Regions from separate parts of the Homo sapiens genome. Here region 2 is linked to region 1. Evidence: promoter capture Hi-C in human tissues and cell types (Jung and others, 2019). All regions are on one chromosome and are shown on one strand. The core of a region is centred on a gene start or on the middle of the fragment in contact, and the rest is flanking DNA. Distances in the headings are between cores, read along the strand shown. Region 1 holds the start of CA6 (carbonic anhydrase 6). Region 2 holds the start of SLC2A7 (solute carrier family 2 member 7).

Evidence for each region. Contacts are between HindIII fragments. The study calls those that stand out against the background at their distance.
Region 2: the fragment with the promoter of SLC2A7 here is called in contact with the fragment with the promoter of CA6 in region 1 in 3 of the 25 tissues and cell types used here (IMR-90 fibroblasts, adrenal gland and mesenchymal stem cells).

The regions. Positions count from the first base shown.
Region 1 is chr1:8,942,489-8,948,345 of GRCh38, reverse strand. It overlaps CA6 (carbonic anhydrase 6), which reads right to left and starts at 2,478. Exons shown (of 8, transcript NM_001215.4): 1 at 2,381-2,478. The coding sequence starts at 2,459. The HindIII fragment of the contact is 10,958 bases long and covers 1-5,857 here.
Region 2 is chr1:9,022,888-9,028,507 of GRCh38, reverse strand. It overlaps SLC2A7 (solute carrier family 2 member 7), which reads left to right and starts at 2,085. Exons shown (of 12, transcript NM_207420.3): 1 at 2,085-2,213; 2 at 3,434-3,532; 3 at 5,430-5,590. The coding sequence starts at 2,163. The HindIII fragment of the contact is 20,163 bases long and covers 1-5,620 here.

The sequences.
Region 1 (5,857 bases), core at 1,229-3,728:
AGAAAGTTTATCTTTTCAGAGAGGGTTGATAATCGTAGGGGACAGAGTAACATAGGTGAGTGATTATCATGGTGACTTGGCTCCCATACAGCTGTGGAGCTTGGAGTCAGCCATGTGACATGGAGAATCCCACCTCTGTTCCCTGTTCGGGGGTAGCTGTGTGGTGAGTACACAGCTTGTTTTAAGACAGGTGTTTGTGGCTGGGCACGGTGGCTCATGCCTGTAATCCCAACACTTTGGGAGGCCGAGGCGGGTGGATCACCTAAGGTTGGGAGCTCGAGACCCACCCTGACAAACCTGGAGAAACTCCATCTCTACTAAAAATAAAAAACAATCAGCCGGGCATGGTGGCACATGCCGTTAATCCCAGCTACTTGAGAGGCTAAGGCAGGAGAATCACTTGAACCCAGGAGGCAGAGGTTGCGGTGAGCCGAGATCGCGCCACTGCACTCCAGCCTGGGCAACGAGAGTGAAACTCTCAAAAAAAAAAAAAAAGGTGTCTGTACTAGGGCCCTCACCGCTTTTTGGTTTGTAATCAAGGCAATTGGCCTGGAGCACAACGCCTTCTCAGAGCAAGATGCTTTGGCCCAGGGCACTGTCAATACTGGAACATCTCTCAGGTTTCCCTGGAAGGCATTTACAAAAGCTACTCTCAAGTTCTCCTGGAGCCCCTAGTAGTTTCCCAGGAAGCCCACTGTCTCAGAGGCTGGGCAGAGCCTGGGAAGGACAAGGACTTCATTGTCTGAATTCTCTCTTCCTTCACCTCTGAACCACCTGCCTGCACTGCTTGGCCAAGTGAAGCAGAATGCCCCAGGCTTCCGAGGCACTGCCATGTGTAAGATCACTGTCCTCAGGAACAGAGCGGTTGTTCAGAGCTGGCTGGACTTTCTGAACCTCCCAGGATGTCCCTAATTCCGTTGCCCTTGACTTAACAGATCATCCCGTTCACCCTGAAGGAATGCTTCCGGAGCAGCTGAACTGGGGCAGACTCTGCAGGAAGCAGATGTTTGTCTCACTTCCTGCATCAGCCAGCGGCCACCAGCCTCCTCATGGGCCCCAATCCATGGTCCCGTATGGAAAGAAGGGGGATGCGGGAAGAAGCTCTCCTCACTGCCCCTGGAAAGGGCTGTTTAGTGTCCACAAAGTCCACAGACACGGCCTTCTAGCTTTGGCTCACATGTGGACCAGAACCCATGTTGAATGCCAGGATTTTACATTTCACATTTTAAAAGTCTGGTTTGGGGCCTGGCGCGGTGGCTCACGCCTGTAATCCCAGCACTTTGGGAGGCTAAGGTGGGCGGATCACTTGAGGTCAGAAGTTTGAGAACAGCCTGGCCAACGTGGTAAAACCCCATCTCCACTAAAAATACAAAAGTTAGCCAGGCATGGTGATGAGTGCCTGTAATCCCAGCTACTTGGGAGGCTAAGACATGAGAATCGCTTGAAACCAGGAGGCAGAGGTTGCAGTAAGCCGAGATGGCACCACTGAACTCCAGCCTGGGCAACAGAGCAAGACTCTGTCTCAAAAAAAAAAAAAAAACAAAAAAAAAAACACCTCTCATTTTGGCAGCCCACAGATCAAAGGGAACTGGGTCCTTATGTCAAGATGTTCTGGGTAAACTGCCTACCATGAAATTTCCAAGAAAGAAGGTCTCGCAAACCCCACAGCACCTTCCGTGAGGTTACCGAGAGTCTTTTCTAAGAACTTTGTTTTCCACTTACACGGACCAACAAAGCAAATGGTTTTACAAATAGAAGCAGTGAGTGTGCTTTTGAACCAGCCAACACTGTGGATGGAAAAAAATTTAAAGCAAAAAGCCTGTAAGTAAATCAGGAGTTTGTGAAGGGGAAAGCTATTTCCTTCTTTTCCTTATTTGAAGTTTAAGTTCAGCTTATTCTCCATACCTTCTGAGACACTGAAAAGGTAACATCTGAAGCCACAATGAGCAGACCCCCAACATATGGCAAGTGGGCTGCCTGGCCATCCTGTGAAATGCCCTAAAGGAGGACTCTTGGCCGGGCGCAATGGCTCATGCCTGTAATCCCAGCACTTTGGGAGATGGGCAGATCACCTAAGGTCAGGAGTTCGAGACCAGCCTGGACAACATGGTGAAACCCTGTCTCTACTAAAAATACAAAAATTAGCCAGGCATGGTGGCAGGCACCTGTAATCCCAGGTACTCGGGAGGCTAAGGCAGCAGAATCACTTGAACCCGGGAGGCGGAGGTTGCAGTGAGCCAACATCACACTACTGTACTCAAGCCTGGGCAACAGAGCAAGACTTTGTCTAAAAAAAAAAAAAAGAAGAAGAAGAAGGGCACTTGTCCTGTTGTAAGGGTGTGAGGGTAACTGGGGGAGCATGCAGAAGCTAGGGGCTCACCTGAGTAGGTCCAGTCAGACACATGCTGGGCCTGGCCACCCAGCAGGAACAGGGACAGCAGAAGCACCAGGGCCCTCATGGTGCTGCACATCTGTAATGAAGACTGATTCCGGCGAAGCTCTTCTTTTAAAGGCTCAGAAACTGTAAATAACAATTTACAATTGATCTGCCCAGCTGGCTAAACCACCCTTTGCTGCACCCACTAAAACAATAACACCCTCCCCATAACAGCACTTCTGGCTCCGTGCATTGCGCCAGGCAGCCCCAGCACCTGCCTGATCTCCTCCCACGTCAATTTCATATCCGGTCAGTCCATGGGTTTGGTTGTTCAGTGTCTTAGGAACACCTGAAGAGCCACACAGTGCAGCCATTGTGGACAGGTGACCGCGGAAATGGGAAAAGGCCCAAGGCAGGGAGAAGCAGGATGAAAGACTTTCCTGGACGTCGGACTTCCCATGCTCTTTCTCCTGACATTAGAGATCTGGGGACTGCTGATGGGATCACCACTGCCTGCAAACCCTGCCCATCTCAGTCATGGACACAAGCCACCGCTGCAGACATGTGGCTGCCCTCAGCCAGGCATCCAGGGAGGTGGCCTGGCCTCCATGTTTGGACATTTCACGGTCCTCTCCTTAAACCAGTGGTTGATCCTGGGTCCCAGCTCATGAGCCACATTCCAATGTGTGCCTTTATGCCATTCAAGCTGGTGTGGGCGTCTGCATTTCTACATGGATTTGTTCTGACACCTGCAGGGCTCTTGGGCACACCTAAGCCAATCAGCCAATTGCCCTCGCAGGATCCATGGATTACCTAATCCTGTGTATTCACTTGGCTAGACAGTCCCTGAAATTAGCTGAAGGAGAAACTTTTGAGTTTATGCCTGCTGACAGGCCAGCATTTCCCATGCCCTTCCACAAGGTCAAACACAAAGGGTAGCCGGAGCTCCTGCGGGGGGGCTACCATGCTGCCGGACACAAAGGGCCACCCCTGCCTTGTTATGGGGAGCTGAACCCCCTCCTGGCCTAGCTTAACTCATTGTCCACTTGGTCCTGGAATGGCAAACGTCAGCAGGCCTTCACAACAAGGATGTTAGCGGTGAACGTAGGCCTCCCGAATACTTCTAAGACTCCCCACTGTCATTTAATAGGGAACATCAGCTGCTGCAAAGAACTTGCTGGAAACTTCCATTTCTAAAGCTCAAGAGCTGAAAGAATCTCAGAGAGAGAGCAAAGCATGTTCAAGGACAAGGATTCTGAAACTAGACAGGATCTGTGCCACCTGCTAACTGTGTGACCATGGGCAACTCAGCGCTCTGTGCCTCAGCTTTCCTTCCTTTTCTTTTTTCTCTTTCTTTCTTCCTTTCTCTCTTTCTTTTCTTTCTCTCTTTCTCTCTTTCTTTCTTTTTTGAGACAGGGTCTCTCTCTGTCACCAGGCTGGAGTGCAATGATACGATTTCAGCTCACTTCTCTTGGACTCAAGCAATCCTCCTGCCTCAGCTTCCCAAGTAGCTGGGACCACAGTCGCATGCCACTACGCCCTGCTAATTTTTGTACTTTTTGTAGATACAGGTTTTCACCATGTTGCTTAGGCTGGCCTCAAACTCCTGGACTCAAGCGATTCTCCCGCCTCGTGCTCCCAAAGTGCTGGGATTACAGGCGTGAGCCGCCGCACCTGGCCGCCTCCTTTCTTTAAAAGGAGTTAGTGATAGCACCTCCTTTGTGGGGATTCGGCAATAAATGTGCCTGCAGTAGTTGGAGCAGTGCCTGGTGTGTAGCAAATGGCATTAGCATCTATTCAGACCCCTCATTTTATAGGAAAAGGAAGTGATTTATCATTGCCACCCAGCTGGTTAGTGAGGGAACTGGAGGAAAAATGCTTCAATCTCCAGCTTATGGACCATTTCTTTGCAAAAATGAGAAACCTACTCTTCTGTCCTTGCTAAACCAGTGACGCCCACCTGCTGACTCCCAGCCCTGCGGAAAGGGCCACCTTGTAAATCACAAGGCCCCACCTCTGCTGAGGAGACCAAGACCCTTTACAAGCCCAGGCAGGACCCCTGACATCAAACTGGCAGGAAAACACAAACTCAGTCATCTGAATTTTTTCTTGGGAATCTGAATTGGGAGACCCAGAAAGAATCAGGGAGCTGCAGGCAGGCAGAGACTAAAATGTCAGGCTGTCACGGAAGCCTGGGAGGACTGGATGAGCCCAGGCGAGGGGAACTGGAGCAGGAAGGAGCTCAGAGAAAGCCTGGGCCAAGGGGGAGGGGAAGACTGCCCAAAGAGGGGCCCTGGAGAGTCAGAGAGAGGAGTGCTTGCGGGAGAGCACAGTGAAATGCAGAGGGCCCACCACTCCTGGCAGCTCCCAGCCCCACGGGTCTCACTGCCCTGCGGTGAGCATTTGGGGCTTCCCAGGAGAGCTCTGGGGCGTTCCTTGCCTCACACAGCTCCTTAAAATACAGTGCACATACTGCGTCTGTGAAGCTGTGATGCCAGCAGCCCCTCTGCAGAACTGCTGTGCAGCGTATCCACCCATCACATCTGAAGCTTTGCCCTGGTTTTGCCTTTCGCTCAGGCAAGAGCCTGGACTGGCCAGCAACCTGTTGACCTGGCTGGTGTTGAGAATTGGTGTGAAAGTGAGTAATTAAGGCAATACGGGGGTCAGATCAGATGATGGCCTCTTGGAGAAGCAAGGCCATCTGCCAACGAGGGCATATTTCTAGAGAGAGGGTCCCCTCCCTCCGCTGTACAGCACACTGCCAAGGACATACTGGACCCAGAATCAGGTGTGGTCAGTAGTGTTGCCTATTTTCTGACTCCTTGTCTACTTCAAACCTGAAATTTTCCGTCACCTTTGAACATGAGTCTTCTTCTTGGATTTGGGAGGCACATTGTTTGTTTGGGTTTGCTTTTGTTGGTGGTGGTGGCAGTGGGTTTTTGTTGTTGTTGTTTTTGGTTTTTGGTTTCTTTTTTGAGACAGGGTCTCACTCTGTTGCCCAGGCTGGAGTGCAGTGGTGCAATCATGGCTCACTGCAGCCTCCCAGTGCTCAGGTGATCCTCCCGCCTCAGCACCCCCTTCCGCCTCATCCCCTCCAAGTAGCTGGGACAACAGGTGCGTGCCCTATGTGTGCTCTGTTTTTGTTGCTTTTATTTTTAGTGTGTCTCTCTATGCTATGAGCTTCCTTCTGCCTTCATCCAACCATATCCTTGGCTGATCAAGGTTGTTTTTTTAATTCTAAACTCCTATTTTTCTAGGGTCTATGGTTGGATTGGCTGTCGGAGATGAGTTGACAAGTTTATCATTATTACAACATCAGGTCAAAGGGAGAAAGGAGCCTTTGTTCTTCCTTGCTTCTACCACTGCCCCCCCGACAAGGCCCACTGAGGCAAGGAAAAAGAAGGAGGCAGGGAGGCATGGCCAGCCCAGGTGGGCAAGAAGGCACCATCAGCCCAGGTGAGCAGGGACAGATCATGAACC
Region 2 (5,620 bases), core at 836-3,335, 81 kb before region 1:
GTGGGGCACGCCTGTAATCCCAGCTACTTGGGAGGCCGAGGCATGAGGATTGCTTGAACACTGGAGGCCGGAAGCGACAGTCAGCCATGACCACGCCACTGCACTCCAGCCTGGGCAACACAGCAACACTTTGTCTCAAAAAAAAAAAAAAAGAGAGAGAGAGAGAAAATACCTACAACATAGTCAGGAGCAGGAGCAGGATAAACATAAATAAGGACCTTTCATTCTCTCAGTCTTGTCATTTACCCACCTGTTACCACCCATGGGCAAACACATTTTCCCCCAGGTATCCTTTTTTTTTTTTTTTTTTTTTTTGAAACAGGTTCTCGCTCTATCACCCAGGCTGGAGTGCAGTGGTGTGATCATGCCTCACTGCAGCCTCAGCCTCCTGTTTTCCAGTGATCCTCCTACCTCAGCCTCCCAAGTAGCTGGGACCACGGGGGCATGCCACCATGCCCAGCTGATTTTTGTATTTTTGGTAGAGATGAGGTTTCACCATGTTGCCCTGGCTGGTCTTGAACTCCTGAGCTCAAGCAATCCTCCACCCACTCAGCCTCTCATTGTGCTGTGCTTATAGGCATGAACCACCGCACCCTGGCCTTCCCCAGGTATACTATGTGTATTCTGCTTTGATCACTTCTCTTAAAGGTCATGTTAATTAAAAAACATGTTAATGTTTCCATGTTCCCACATTTCATAATTATCCTTTGAAACAGAAGTCTGGCATTCCAATCAATTAGTTACTCCTAATTTATTCAATCATTCTCTACTTTAAAAAAAAAATGCTAGTAGAAATGATTCTGAAATAAGCACCTTTGTCCAATATTTTATTGACTTATTTAACACTATTTAGTGTAATTAGAAATAATAACTGTGTTTTTCTGAAAGTGTTTAATTTGTTCTTTCCCCCAAATGGACAATTAGTCCAAATGCACAAGAGGAGGCATATATGAAGAACCTAGGAACACACAGAAAGGAACAGCAAACACTGGGATCTACTTCCGGCTGGAGGGTGGGAGGAGGGAGAGGAGCAGCAAACAAACACTGGGAAGTGGGCTTAATACCTGGGTGATGAAATAATCTGTACAACAAACCCCCGTGGCACGAGTTTACCTATGTAACAAACCTTCACATATACCCTGAACCTAAAATAAAAGTTAAAAAAAAAAAAAAAGCCAGGTGCGGTGGCTCATGCCTGTAAGCCCAGCACTTTGGGAGGCCAAGGCAGGCGGATCACTAGAGGTCAGGAGTTCTAGACCAGCCTGGCCAACATGGTGAAACCTCATCTCTACTAAAAACACACAAAAAAAGGCTGGGTACGGTGGCTCACGCCTGTAATCCCAGCACTTTGGGAGGCCGAGGCGGGCAGATCATGAAGTCAGGAGATCCAGGCCATCCTGGCTAACACGGTGAAACCCCGTCTCTACTAAAAATACAAAAAAAAAATTAGCCAGGCATGGTGGCAGGCACCTGTGGTCCCAGCTACTCAGGAGGCTGAGACAGGAGAATGGCGTGAACCCGGGAGGCAGAGCTTGCAGTGAGCTGAGATTGCGCCACCGCACTCCAGCCTGGGCGACAAAGCGAGACTCCACCTCAAAAAAAAAAAAAAAAAAAAAAAAAAGCTGGGTGTGGCGGCACGTGCCTATAATCCCGGCTACTTGGGAAGCTAAGGCAGGAGAATAGCTTGAGCCCAGGAAGCCGAGGTTGCAGTGAGCTGAGATTGCGCCACTGCACTCCAGCCTGGGCAACAAAGGAAGACCCTGTCTCAAAAAAAAAAGAGGCATACATGGAAAAATGACACAGAAAAAGCATCCTAGATCCAGGTCACAGCCTCACTGGGTCTCTGAAAGTCCTCATTTCTGCGGACCAATGTCAGGCAATGTTTTTTCTCTCTCCTTGGTGCAACTAGGGAGCTTTCGGCTTGGGGCTTGGTGGGTGCAAAGACGAAATTCGTGCTGTGTATGATTTGTGCACTGGCAACGTGTGTCTTATCAACATTTCCAAGGAGAATTTGCTCCTGGGGAAAGTCAGCAGGGTCCAGAGAGCAAAAGGATCATAAAGCCAGGTAGGCCCAGGGGAGAAACAGCCGGTCTTTAGGTGGCTGGCGCAGAGCAGGTGTCACTTGGGAGGTAGAGCACACCTGTTCTCCCACCTGAACAAGGATGGAGAACAAAGAGGCGGGAACCCCTCCACCCATTCCATCCAGGGAGGGGGTAAGTGCCAAGACTAGGAACCTGTCACTGTCCCTCTCCCACCAGCTGTGCAGACCTGTGGAGGGAGGTGAAGGCCGTGGAATGCTTTTAGCAAGGAGCGGGTAGCGTGCTTCCTTTTTCTTCAGGATAACCAGGCCTGGGAGAGCCATGTGGAGAAGCAGCTATGCTCAAACCTCATGGCTCAGACATGGGCCAGGGTGGCTGAGCGAATGCTGGGAGAGCGGATGGTGCTGGAGATGCCTCTCTCCCTTCCACCCCTGCTCCCCTCCGCTTCCCCTACCCTTAAAGATCGAGGGGAGATGGCCTCTGAAGAATGCCCGAATCCTGCCCTTCTGTCTGGTTGTTCCTGGATGTGCAGAGCTACGGGCTGTGGGCAGCCAGGCAGCTAAGTGTGAGGGTTGGGGTGAGGACATGTGGAACAGGAGTGAGGGGTGGAGGGGGCAGTGGGGAGGGGGCATGCACCAGGGCCTTGGCTCTAGGACATGGTCAGAGACCCTGCCCACCTGCTCCTCAGACTTTGGCCCTCAGGCCAGTTCCCCTCCAAGCTGCCCTGGGTGTTGTGGCAACCATGGAAAGCCTGGCCCTGAGCACAGGCGACTGCCGGGATTTTCCTAAGGGCCTGTTCTAGAGGCAGAGGCAAGCAATGAGTCCCTCTGTCTGGGATGCTCTTCCCCCCGATGCTTACACAGCTGCTCCCTCTCATCCATTCTGGTCCCGGCTCAAAGGGCGCCTGCTCAGAGAGGCCTTCCCTGCCCTGCCCACCCTACTGAACACAGTCTCTCATTCCTCACAGGCTGCTACCCCACCCATCACCCTATTTTATTGTCCTCACAGCATTCTAGCTATTTGGAATTATCATCTTTGTCTTTCTTGGACGGGGTGGGCTCCCCTCACTAGAAAGTGAGCTTCTTAAAGGCAGTGCTTTGCTGGGCCTTTTTCCTAAAGCATCCCCTACTTCACACTTGGCCTCCAGGGCCTAGTACAGGGCCAGGCACGTAGCAGATGCTCAGATACATCCTCAAGGAGGGAATGAATGCGTGCAGAGACCTCAGCCCCCAAAAGCCCCAGCCCTGCGCCACCTCCTCCTCTTTTCCGGGGGCACGGCCTGGGATCCCCCATCCCCCACTTCCAGCCCAGGCTGGAGGGAGGTGGAGGCCCAGCCACTCCACTTCCCGAGGCCCAAGCCCACAGCGTCCCGACCTTGGACTTGTCTCCTACAGCGGCTCCAGCCGACGCTGTTGCTGGCGACACTGAGCGCGGCCTTTGGCTCAGCCTTCCAGTACGGCTACAACCTCTCTGTGGTCAACACGCCGCACAAGGTGGGCACAAGGTGGGCACAAGGTGGGCCGGGCAGCAGCTGACCGGGGTCGTGGGTGGAAGGTAGCCGCCATCTTCCTCCGTGGAGGCTGCCATCTTGCCTGTAGGAGGCACCATCTTGCCTTTGGGAGCAGCCAGCTTGCCCTAGTACCCTGGATGCTCACCCCTGGAGACCAGGGCGTGGCAGGAGGTGTTTCCCCCTGGAGTGTCGTCCTTTCCGGGCACATTGGGATGCTGGGGGACCTGTTCCATTTTCCAGCCCAGTCTTTTTGGGCCTCAGGTCCCACTGCTCTCACCTTGGGTAGGCCCCTTGTTGATTGGAAAGAGAATGGGGTCAAAGATTGAACTCTGTGGCATTTAGGGATTGGGGCAAAGGGGAAAAAAGGAAAAAGAGAAGGGGCCCTTGCAGGTGTGGAAGACCCTGAGGGCAGAATGTCCCCAAAACCTAGTAAAGGATGAGAGTCAAGGAGGGAGGGACAGCCTGTGCTGATGAGCTCAGATGAGGACTGAGAACTGACTACAGGCTTGACCTTGGTATACGTCTATGCTTACGCTTGTATACATATATTAGCATGTCTACAGACACTGTATTACATTTGTTTGTGTATTACGTATATATACATATATTAGTGTACTTACAATTATTACCATGGATGGAACCTCCGAGTCAAGCAATGTACCATCACTTAATCACATTTAATGCTAACACATTCTTTATAAGGTACATCTTGTTTCCATAACTGATGAGGAAATTAAGGTTTCTGGAGGTTCTGTAACTTGCCTGAAGTCACACAATTAGTAAAAATATTTCCTGGGCTGGGAGCGGTGGCTCACGCCTGCAATCCCAGCACTTTGGGAGGCTGAGGTGGGTGGATCACCTGATCACCTGAAATCAGGAGTTCAAGACCAGCCTGGCCAACATGGTGAAACCTCATCTCTACTAAAAATCCAAAAATTAGCCAGGCATGGTGGCGGGTATCTGTAATTCCAGCTACTCGGGAGGCTGAGACAGGAGAATCACTTGAACCCGGGAATCAGAGGTTGCAGTGAGCCAAGATCATGCCACTGCACTCCAGCCTGGGTGACAGAGTGAGACTTCATCTCAAAAAAAAAAAAAAAAAAAAAAAAAAAAAAAAAAAGAAGAAGAATATTTCCTATGGTGCCTCTGGCAGAGTAAGTCGTAAGTCTCTCAAAAGTAAAATTTTTTTTTTCTTTTCTTTTCTCTTCTTTTTTAATAGAGACAGGGTCTCCCTATGTTGGCCAGGTTGCTCTTGAACCCTTGGCCTCAAGCAATCCTCCCGCCTCGGCCTCCCAAAGTGCCAGGATTACAGGTGTGAGCCATTCCCAGCCAAAAGTAAATTTTTTTTTTTTGAGACGGAGTCTCGCTCTGTTGCCCAGGCTGGAGTGCAGTGCCGCAATCTCGGCTCACTGCAAGCTCCACCTCCCAGGTTCACGCCATTCTCCTGCCTCAGCCTCCTGAGTAGCTGGGACTACAGGCGCCCGCCACCACGCCCAGCTAATTTTTTGTATTTTTAGTAGAAACAGGGTTTCACTGTGTTAGCCAGGGTGGTCTCGATCTCCTGACTTCATGATCTGCCCGCCTCAACCTCCCAAAGTGCCGGGATTACGGGCGTGAGCCACTGCGTCCGGCCAAAAGTAAATTTTTTAACAGTGATTTTGTAACAATCTTTTTGTTCAGCCTAGTTTCTCATTTCAACCCATCATATAGTAGATTTTTTGATTCTCAGGTAATAGTAGGGAATCAGTGGGTTTAACTGTGTCTTATAGGTGTTAGCAGAAAAACCTCTCTGTACAATGACAAGTGGCCACTGAGAACACTTTCTCATTTCTCATGAACTGCCCAATATTCTTAGCTGTGGATGGGGCAATGTTTTCCAGGTCTTCAAGTCATTTTACAACGAAACCTACTTTGAGCGACACGCAACATTCATGGACGGGAAGCTCATGCTGCTTCTATGGTCTTGCACCGTCTCCATGTTTCCTCTGGGCGGCCTGTTGGGGTCATTGCTCGTGGGCCTGCTGGTTGATAGCTGCGGCAGGTAAACAGAAGGTGCACTGCTCCCACTTAA